Linked DNA regions of Homo sapiens: region 1 is linked to region 2. Evidence: promoter capture Hi-C in human tissues and cell types (Jung and others, 2019). All regions are on one chromosome and are shown on one strand. The core of a region is centred on a gene start or on the middle of the fragment in contact, and the rest is flanking DNA. Distances in the headings are between cores, read along the strand shown.

The links. The method cuts DNA at HindIII sites, captures the fragments that hold promoters and counts their contacts. A contact is called where the count stands out against the background at its distance.
Region 1: a contact is called between a fragment that was not itself captured here and the fragment with the promoter of CARD14 in region 2, in 2 of the 25 tissues and cell types used here (hippocampus and mesendoderm cells).

The regions. Positions count from the first base shown.
Region 1 is chr17:80,761,674-80,767,278 of GRCh38, reverse strand. All of the region lies in intron 6 of RPTOR (regulatory associated protein of MTOR complex 1), which reads right to left. Among named protein-coding and RNA genes, the nearest start is that of RPTOR, 220 kb to the right of the region's middle. RefSeq lists an enhancer at 5,046-5,605. The HindIII fragment of the contact is 5,919 bases long and covers 1-5,602 here.
Region 2 is chr17:80,167,076-80,172,330 of GRCh38, reverse strand. CARD14 (caspase recruitment domain family member 14) reads right to left here and starts at 2,301. Exons shown (of 24, transcript NM_001366385.1): 1 at 2,275-2,301. The HindIII fragment of the contact is 21,960 bases long and covers 1-4,519 here.

The DNA.
Region 1 (5,605 bases), core at 1,394-3,893, 590 kb before region 2:
CCACCTCAGCCTCCCAAGTAGCTGGGACTACAAGCGTATGCCACCACGCACGAGTAATTTTTATATTTTGTAGAGATGGGGTTTTGCTATGTTGCCCAGGCTGGTCTTGAACTCCTGGGCTCAAGCGATCCACCTGCCTCGGCCTCCCAAAGTGCTGGGATTATAGGCATGAGCCCCCGCACCTGGCCCCTTATTCTTTTAACATCTGTAGGATCAGTAAGGATGTGCCCTCTTTCATTTCTGATGAAAGTCATTTGTATCTTCCTTCTATTTTTCTTGAGCACTCTAGAAAAAGTTTTGACAATTTTAATGAACCTTTCAAAAACTATCAACTAGTTTCATGAATTTTTACAAATTTTGGGGTCAACTTCTGTTTATTTTTGCTCTTCTCTTTATTATTTCTTTTCTTCTACTTACTTAGGGTTTAATGTATTCTTTTTTTTCTGGACTTAAAGAAAAACTTAGACCATACATTTGAGAGTTTTTTAATTAAAAACTACAAATAGCATTAAATTTTGAGATCAATTATTGCCGGTACATGAACACCTAGTTAAGTAATGGTGCCTGTTTCTTTCCCTAGTGACAAACAGTGAGCTTACAAACAGCAGTAAGAAAGGGTACAGTGCACACCTCTAGGTGGACCTTTGCAAGCATTTCTATACACTATTAACAAAGGAAAAGAACTGCCAACTAAACAGGTATGTTACTTATTGTAAGATGCTTCTGGACCCCAGATATGTTAAGTGTGAAAACGCACATGCTGGGATCAGGCGTGGTGGCTCATGCCTGGAATTCCAGCACTTTGGGAGGCTAAAGCAGGAGGATCACTTGAGCCCAGGAGTTCAAGGATGCAGTGAGCTATGACTGTGTCACTGCACTCCCATCTAAGTAAAAGGGAGAGACCCTGTCTCTATTTTTTAAAAAAGGACCAGACATGGTGCCTCATGCTTGTAATTCCAGCACTTTGTAAGGCTGAGGTGGGAGGATCTCTTGAGCTTAGGAGTTCGAGACCAGCCTGGGCAACATGGTGACACAGTCTCTACAAAAGATACAAAAATTAGTCAGAATGGTGGCATACACCTGTAGTCCCAGTTACCTGGGGGGCTGAGGTGGGGGGATTGCTTGAGCCCGAGAAGTTGAGACTACGGTGGGCCGTGTTCACACCACTGCACTCCAGCCTGGGTGACAAAGCAAGATCACGTCTTAAAAAAAATTTAAAAAGTACATGCTAGAATCAGTGAACTATGTTAGATGGCCCTTACTGTAAACAGATAATTACAAATGTTCACATTCCTTCTGCTGGTTATGGAGTTATCTTACTGGGGGTCAGGAATTCTAATACTGTTTTAGTGCGAGAGAGAATCTTTGCCTTGTTCCCAGCTTCGAAGGGAAGACGTCTCCAGTCTCCCCACTAGGCTGGTTTGCTGAAGAGCTCTGATGTAGCCTTTACCACGTTAAGTAAGTCGTGGTAACCTCTATTTAGACGTGACAGACTATAGATGATAGTGATCTCAACTTCCTCCATAACGAGAGAAAAAGAACAGGACAAGGACGGAGAGCCCCAGGAAGGAAATCATGGCAAATGAGAGACGCTGGGCAGGAGAGAGAGAGGCGGAACAACAGAGTTGAGGCTGTCAGTTCGGGAGCCTGGGCACCCAGCTTTGAATCCTGACTCCACCAGCTACTCTCCAAGCAACCTGAACTTCCTCATCCTGAAAGCAGCACTAACGCCAGTCCAAACCTTACAGGCGTGTGGTGTTAGATGAGTGCATTAGTGGAATGGCTCCAGTGACGCTCGACAAATGCTAGCTACTGTTATCCCTGTAACTGTAAAATGTCAACCAAACGTTAAGAAACAGTTGGACAAGCGTAAGTGGCTCAGCAGAGGTGAGAGAAGTGAAGCCTTTGACCTGGACGGTGCAAAGTCAAAATGAAGCACTCACCTCCCAAAGCCTGCTGTCAGCAAGTATCAAGAACTGAGACAACTGGCTCTCTGAAAAGAAGAACTGAGAGCAAGTGCCCAGATGAAAATCTGTGAGAAGAGTGTTCAGAGGCCCTGGACGCCCCCTCCCACACTGGCAGGACTCCCAGGAAATGAAGCAGAGACCCTATGGATGCAGAGATGCGACGGACAGCGTAGGGCTGCCTGTATCTTTCAGATTCGCTCTCTTCATTTTGTTTTTCATCTGTTTATTGCATTTTTCCCCTGGCTCTTTAAGGCAAACATTTAATTTTTCTTGTTTTTTTAATCTTTGTTTTCTGACTAAATGTATTAAATCCTCGCCTGCTTTGGCTACATACACCCCACAAACAGCAAATGTGCTATTACTAACATTTGGCTGTGAGTATTTTATCAGTTTTAAAGTATTTCCTCTTTAGAAATGCAAATCAAAACCACAATGAGATACCATCTCACACCAGTTAGAATGGCAATCGTTAAAAAGTCAGGAAACAACAGGTGCTGGAGAGGATGTGGAGAAACAGGAACACTTTTACACTGTTGGTGGGACTGTAAACTAGTTCAACCATTGTGGAAGTCAGTGTGGCGATTCCTCAGGGATCTAGAACTAGAAATACCATTTGACCCAGCCATCCCATTACTGGGTATATACTCAAAGGACTATAAATCATGCTGCTATAAAGACACATGCACACGTATGTTTACTGTGGCACTATTCACAATAGCAAAGACTTGGAACCAACCCAAATGTCCAACAATGATAGACTGGATTAAGAAAATGTGGCACATATACACCATGGAATACTATGCGGCCATAAAAAATGATGAGTTCATGTCCTTTGTAGGGACATGGATGAAATTGGAAATCATCATTCTCAGTAAACTATTGCAAGGACAAAAAACCAAACACTGCATGTTCTCACTCATAGGTGGGAACTGAACAATGAGAACACATGGACACAGGAAGGGGAACATCACACTCTGGGCCTGTTGTGGGGTGGGGGGAGGGGGGAGGGATAGCATTAGGAGATATACCTAATGCTAAATGACGAGTTAATGGGTGCAGCACACCAGCATGTCACATGTATACATATGTAACCTGCACATTGTGCACATGTACCCTAAAACTTAAAAGTATAATAATAAAATAAAATAAAATAAAATAAAATAAAATAAAATAAAATAAAATAAAATAAAATAACAAAAGAAGTCATACGGTCAGGACTTCAAGTTAGTTAAAGAGATTTTAGGTTTCTCTGCTATATATCAATAATCAGTTTCTAAAAAGACATCTATAGTAGCTATGTGCTTATATAAGTCAATTTTCCCTGTTCAGGTTGATGTCAGGATGAAACAATATGTATAAAGAGATTAGTTATTGGGATTAATGTCAAAGTTCTACAATGAAGTCAAATAAATGTGTAAGTGTGTACATGTAAAAAAAAATAAAAAATATAAAATATTTCCTCTTTAATCCAAGGATTTTAAGATTTTAGTTTTCAGACTTTTGTTAAAGCTGTCCTTTCGTTACTGAGTTCTAGCTTCATTGCGTGTGGTCTGCCACGGAGTTCACACGATGCTGATTCTTCCGGATTAGTAAAGCTTTCTTTGTAGTCGGGCGCATGATTTATTTTTGTGAATGGTCCACATATGTCCACATTCCCTGTTGGATGTATGGTCCTGTGTGCCTCTGTGAGGTCTGGCTAATTAATTCGGTGACAAAAGTCGTATTTACGTTGCTTCCTTTGTCTGTACTTGGTGTCTCTGTATCTAAGCACACTTCTCATTCATCTGCTTCCATCCACACTTCAGCTCCCATCTTATCTCGTTCGAGGCCACGTTGTCAGGTGCACACAGTCATCATCAGTATATACCTTCCTGCTTTCCTGTTCGTTTTACCACAATACAACATTTTTCTTTGCCCCTCTCAATAATTTATCTCAGCTTCTGCTTTAAGTCATATTGGGACTGGCCACCCCAGCTTTCTTTTAGCTCGTATTTCTCTTTTTCATCTTCTGATTTCCAACCTTTGAAATACATGTTCTTATTTTTTATTATTATTATTTTTTTTTAGAGACTGGGTCTTACCCTGTCACCCAGGCTGGAGTGCAGTGGCACAATCACAGCTCACTGCAGCCTTGAACTCCTGGGCTCAACTGATCCTCCTGCCTCAGCCTCCCGAGGAACTGAGACCACAGGCATAAGCCACCATGTCCAGCTAATTTTTAAATTTTTAGTAGAGACAGGGTCGTGCTGTTTTGCCCAGGCTTAAACGTTTTGCTTTAAATCTGTGTCTCATGGACAAGAGACTGCTGTATCATGATTTTAACCAACACAAGAATCATGGCCCTTTGAGAGGTGAATTCAATTCGTTTACAGTTACAACTTTATTTCAAAACATTTTAGCCATCGTATCTCACACTTTCTATTTACTAAGCCTGTCTTTTCTCCTTTTCTACGTTTTTTTTTAGAGAGAAGAAAATGTTATTTCCTAGATATTTAAACTTTGTCTCTGCCTCTCATGTTTCTCCCCTTCCTTCTAGCTCCATCCCTTTGGTGGGAACTCCTCAAACAAGCTTCTCAGCTTCCTGGTTTATTCTTGGCTCTATCCATAATGTTGCTTTTCAATCCATCTCTTCAATTATTTCACCAATTATATTTTTTATACTTAATGCTTCCAACTGGTCTTTCTTCCTGTTTCTTCTTCATATTTCCAATTGTCTTTTATCACTTTTATTTATTATTGGATTACTTCTCTTTTCACAAGGGCGGTAGGACAAACTCTTTCTTTCCACCCTCTTATTTTCCATCTTTCTGAGCCCCAGACACAGCACAGCAGGCCATGCCTATCAAGGGCAGTGGGAGGAGAGCCGAGTGCCCTCAGCCTTGCCTGCACCCTGGGGCCCTCGCCAGCTCCACTGTCTCCTCCGGCCTCACCCCTCACCCCAGCCCCCAGTGGGGACTCAGCCATCTCAAGGGACCAGCAAAGTCTCCGGCTGTGCTGCTGAGTGGGCTCCCTCCAGGATCATCAATCTCACTCTTTCCTGCAGCACCCGAGGACGGGGTTCAGCCGGGGAGTCAGCAGCCCGTGCCCCTCCATCTGCTTCAATTCCCTTTCTTACCGCATCCATCAGGTGGTTTTTACACGTCATCTTTTAAAACGGGAGCTCTATTACAATACATTATGATATTCATCTTAATTGAGTATATGTCAAGAGACTGGAACAGTGAGAGAACACTGTCTTGTTTGGGGAGAAAAAATATTTTCCTCTGGAAACGGCCTGGAAGCTGCCGCGGGGACTGTGTGAGATCCATGATACTGAGGCTCTACTTGGAAACGTCATAAAGCCGTTTCTCCAGACGCAAATTCCAAATTAAACTTGCCTACGACTAAGGTCTAAGATACAGAGTGGGATACTACAAAAGAGCATTTTATTCAATAATGTGTCCCGGTTACTTCACCCTCTGGGAGGACCAGTGAGCTCCTCTCCCTTCGCACATATGCAGGAAGACAAAGTCATCGGACTGTTGTTGAAAGGAAGCGGCAAAAGACCCGAGAGCACTGAACGGGCAGAAGAAAGTGTGTTCTCTGGCAAAGCAGATGTATTTTAGAAGACTCCTTGGAGAACACATGGTTAACTCTAT
Region 2 (5,255 bases), core at 1,052-3,551:
GTATTTGCCCCCAAATCTCTTACGAAACATCTACTTCAATAGGCATTCGGCCTGAGCCTAGAGGTTCCAAGGCAGATGGAAAATACAGGTGTCCCTAAACAGTCGCCTACAAGGCCTTTCTTTGGGGCCAATGGCCTTGTGATTAAGTTGGTGCCAAAGAGCCAATGACTGAAAAACTAGGGCTTACCGCAGTATAATGTTTGTTTCTAGCAAATGACACTCTGGCACGCTCTCCAGTATCTTACTATATCGAGTTGCCAAGGGGCCACATCTCCAGCTTGCAGCTGAAACCCTGGGAGTTCTGGACAGCCAGGTCTCTGCGGATATCCTGAGGACCAGGACTGGTGGTCAGCCGAGGACTACAGGTTTCTCGGGTGCCTTCCTGGGGCTGGGTCCAGGTGGCAACGACCGGGTCTGGGAGGGTCCTCTAGTTGGATTGTCCCTCTGCCCCTGACTTGCCCGAGCCTCACAAGACTCCTGAGGAGGGTCTGAGGGTGCTGACTGTGCCCTCCCATCAGACTGAACTCAGAAAGCCAGGGCAGCTCAAGCCAAAGCTGCCTCACCAGCAGCTGAAGACAGGGGCTCTGCAGAACTCTCCAGACCCCAGCCAACTGCCCCAGCCAGCTGCCCCTCAGGCTTCTGGAGCCCCCAGAGCCACACTGAACTTCAAGCATCAGTGGGTGGAGCTAAATAGAAGTCACTAGTCCCTTCTGCAGTTGCCATGAAGCAACTTACAGTAGTCTCCAATGGCAGTTAACAATTGCAGGAGTTTCTTTGTAACTTGTCCCAGTGTAAATAAGGGTTAGTCCTAACAGTAAAACAAAACAAAACAAAACAAAAAACCTTAGGGCTGGGCACAGTGGCTCAGGCCTGTAATCCCAGCACTTTGGAGGCCAAGGCAGGAGGATTGCTTGAGCTCAAGAGTTCAAGGCTGCAGTGAGCTATGATTGTGCCACTGCCCTCCAGCCTGGGTGACAGAGCAAGACCCTGGCTCAAAAAAAGGAAAAGAAAGAAAGAGAGAGAGAGAGAAAGAAAGAAAGAAAAGAAGAAAAGAAAGAGAGAGGAAGGAAGGGAAGGAGAGAGAGAAGGAAGGAAGGAAGGAAGGAAGGAAGGAAGGAAGGAAGGGAGGGAGGGAGGGAGGGAGGGAGGGAGGGAGGAAGGGGAGGGGAAGGGGAAGGTGAATGGGAAGGCGCCAGGAGCCGTGGCTCACGCCCGTAATCCCAGCACTTTGGGAGACCAAGATGGGCGGATTACCTGAAGTCAGGAGTTTGAGACCAGCCTAGCCAACGTGACAAAACCCTGTCTCTACTAAAAATAAAAAAATTAACCAGGTGTGGTGGCGTGCACCTATAGTCCCAGCTACTTGGGAGACTGAGGCAGGAGAATCACCTGAACCCAGGAGGCAGAAATTGCAGTGAGCCGAGATTGTGCCACTGCAACTCTAGCCTGGGCGACAGAGGGAGACTTCTGAAAAAGGAGAGAAGAGGGGAGGGGAGGAGAGGGGAGAGGAGGGGAGGGGAGAGGAGGGGAGGGGACGGGAGGGGAGGGGACGGGAGGGGAGGGGAGGGCCCAGAGATCTCTAATTCCAAACTCTGAATCTAACTGTACAGCAATTCTAGAAGAGCCTAAGATCATAAAATCCTGAGCATCTAAGATGTGGGTTCTCCTTATTTGACCCCTCCCAGGTCAACATCCTTCTCCTAACCCAAGTGTCAGTCTCTTCCCTTGCCAGTGAAGTAGGGAAGAAGGCATGTACACATACACACACGCACACGCACACACACACATGTACATACCCCATGGGGGGCAGAGGGTCACAAGCCCAGGAGGAGGGGGCACAGCTCACCTCGGCCCCCCAGTGCCATGACAGGCTGGCTGTGCCTCTGCTACCAACAGCAGCCAGCTGGTCTTGCTCACTTTGTTCTGAACTTAGACACCTTCCTTCTGCTGTCTTTCATCCCACGGCAATAGCGAAGAGATGAGAGTATAAAACAGAGATCCCTTTCATCTAGCATGACCCATGCTGTTTTAAGGCAGAACTCAGCATTCAGAGAATGTTCCAGTGATTGACCCAGCAACACAGACAAGCCGTTTTCTGTTCTCTAGTCCACATACAAGGCAGCTCCTCCACTCCTGATGAGGAAGATGCCGGCCCCTCCCACTCCCCTGGGACCACTCTCGGGCCCCATCAGACCTGTGTCGGCTGAGCCCCTCCGTAGGCTGAGCCCTCCGTAGGCTGACCTGCTCTTCGCCGGATGGACTGCGCGCACTTACCTTCCCCCTCCCAGGGAAGCGAGGACTGAATGTGGCCCAATCTCTGGCTGAACTGAACGGCAGTGGACAAGCAGGTTTGACAGGCACATCCCACAGGAGCAGTGCCTTATATGGGGCTTCTATGAGCCATCGAAGCACCAGTGCAGTCCCACAGCTAGACATTGCCGTAAGAACCACAGGGATGGCTGAGAACAGTCCGTGCATCTGGTCGACCCACAGAAGATGGTGATTGAGGGTGATTGAGGGGAAGGCTTCAGGCTTGGGGGCTGGGAATCCTCTCTCCTTTGTGAACGGTCACCCAGTTCATCATCATTTCTACCCTTGGGAAAATCCTACGAAGATCAGGATAAATTCTAGGGCCTTTCTTGGTTCTCATGATCCATTATTGGAAGTATCTGAATAATTCCAATAGATCCATCTCAAGTTAACATTTCATAACTATTGTTTAGATTTAGATGAAAGTCTTGGTCCTCCACCTTGAGATATGTCTAGAATCCGATCCATTCTCACCACCTGCATTGTGGTGTCCTGATCATGGCCCACCGGGACCTCTGTAATGGCTCCTAACTTCTTCCCACGCCCCCATCACCAGCGCTCAACACAGCAGACAGAGAAGTCCTGCTAGGGCATGAGTCAGCTCCTGTCATTCCCTTCGGTGTACAGGTCCTGGAGTCCTCAGCGTGACCATGAGGCTCTGCTTATCAGGTCCTTGCTGACCTTATCTCTCTTTTACCTGCTCCAGACACACAGCCCAACAGTCTTGACAGTCCAGGCACACTTCTGCCCCAGGGCCTTTGCACCTGCTGTTCCCACTGCCTGGAACACTCTTTCCCATCCCTCCTTCCAGACTCTACTCAAATGCTACTTCCCAGATCATCCTACTTAAGTCCGTAGACCTCCCATCCTGGCCTTCACTCCCCTTCCCTGTTCCATCTTCTCTGTGGGAATACTGCCTTGACCTAACGTGTATTCTAGTTACGTGGCTTCCTGCCAGCCTCCCCACTCCACAGTAACCTACTGAGGACAATAATTCTTGTCTTTCTTGTTCCCTGCTGTGTCCCCACCCCTAGGGCTGTGATATTCCACAAATATTGGTTGAGCGAATGAATAAACATTGGTTAGGGGCTTGGTTCCCAATGATGCAGACACTGAAAGAAGGGAAATTCACAGGTCCATGGCCTGAGAACCTTCAGGATTATCCTGCGGACAATCAAAGATCGGCCTTCAAGGTCATGTAGCTCATGGTGGCTGAGCAGTAGCTCCAACCCAAATCTCCTGGTGATGAGCCGGCTGAAGGCACAGCCAGTTGGGCAGAGCAAGTGAGAACGCAGGCCGAGGCCAGGTGCAGACATGAACTCTCCAACCAGGGTTACAGCCCCACTGGGTGTCAGCTTCCCCTCAGGCAGTTCATTTAAGCCCCTAAGGCTCAGCTCTCTTAGTTTCCTCCAGCAGACCTCATGATAAGCCCTCCCCCACAGTGGGGAAGCTTGCCAGCTCATCACACTGTGCCAGCCACACAGAGAATTCTAGTTACAGAAAACGCAAAGAAATGCCGCCATTCCCAGTAAAAGAGGGGGGCAGAAGAATGCACTGGAGATGGGAGGAGCCTCCCTAAGAACAGAAATAGCCATAGAAATAGTCAAGGTGCAGCCATAGAAAGGAATGAAGGGCCTTTGCAGAGACATGGATGAAGCTGGAAGCCATCATTCTCAGCAAACTAACATGGGAACAGAAACCCAAACACTGCATGTTCTCACTCATAAGTGGGAGCTGAACAATGAGAACACATGGACACAGGGAGGGGAACAACACACACTGGGGCCTATGGTAGGGGGAGTGGAGGGAGAGCATCAGGACAAATAGCTAATGCACGTGGGGCTTAAAACCTAGGTGATGGGTTGACAGGTGTAGCAAACCACCATGGCACATGTCTACTTATGTAACAAACCTGCACATTCTGCACATGTATCCCGGAACCTAAAATAAAATAAAATAAAAAGAAACAGTCAAGGAAGCCACAACCCTGAAGGACCCTGTGTTTTCTGAGGTCAAAAACCATATCTTAGGCTAGGTGCAGTGGCTCATGCCTGTAACCCCAGTGCATTGAGAGGCTGAGGAGGGAGGATTGCTTGAGGCCAAGAGTTCGAGACCAGCCTGGGCAACACAGGAAGACCCTGTCTCTACAAAAAATAATTTTAAAAAAAAGCCGGGTATGGTGCAACATGCCTGTGGTCCCAGCTACTCCGGAGGCTGAGGTGGGAGGATCGCTTCAGCCCAGGAGGTAGACGCTGCAGTGAGCCGTGGTTGCACCACTGCACTCCAGCCTGGGCAACAGAAGGAGACCCTGTCTCAAACAAAACAAAACAAAACGTATCTTAATCACTATGGCATCTTCAGGAGGGCCCCACTGGCAGGTCATCTATATCACACAGAATTGCAGCTGCATACACATATCCAGAGCCAATAAAGCAGCACCTCTAGTAATCTGGCCAGGTTAGGTTAGGGTATCCCTGGAAAAACTCAGAAGGGGGACCTGGGGGACAGGGGCCAGCAGGCACCAGGACAGCACCACCCAGGGGCTCTGTGCCCCGTGGCAGTGATCAGTGAAGAAACGGACATGTGCCAGACTTGGGCCAGCTGAAGAGCTCCTCTGGGCACTTTTTTTTTTTTTTTGAGACAAGTCTCACTCTGTCACCCAGGCTGGAGTGCAGTGGCTTGACCTCAGCTCACTGCAGCCTCCACCTCCCAGGTTCAAGCGACTCTCCTGCCTCAGCCTCCCGTGTAGCTGGGATTACAGCTATGTGCCACCATGCCCAGCTAATTTTTGTATTTTTAGTAGAGACGGGGTTTCACCATGGTGGCCAGGCTGGTCTCAAACTCCTGATCCCAAGTGATCTGCCCACCTTGGACTCCCAAAGTGCTGGGATTACAGGCATGAGCCACCATGTCTGGCCTCCTCTGGGCACTTTATTCATCCATAG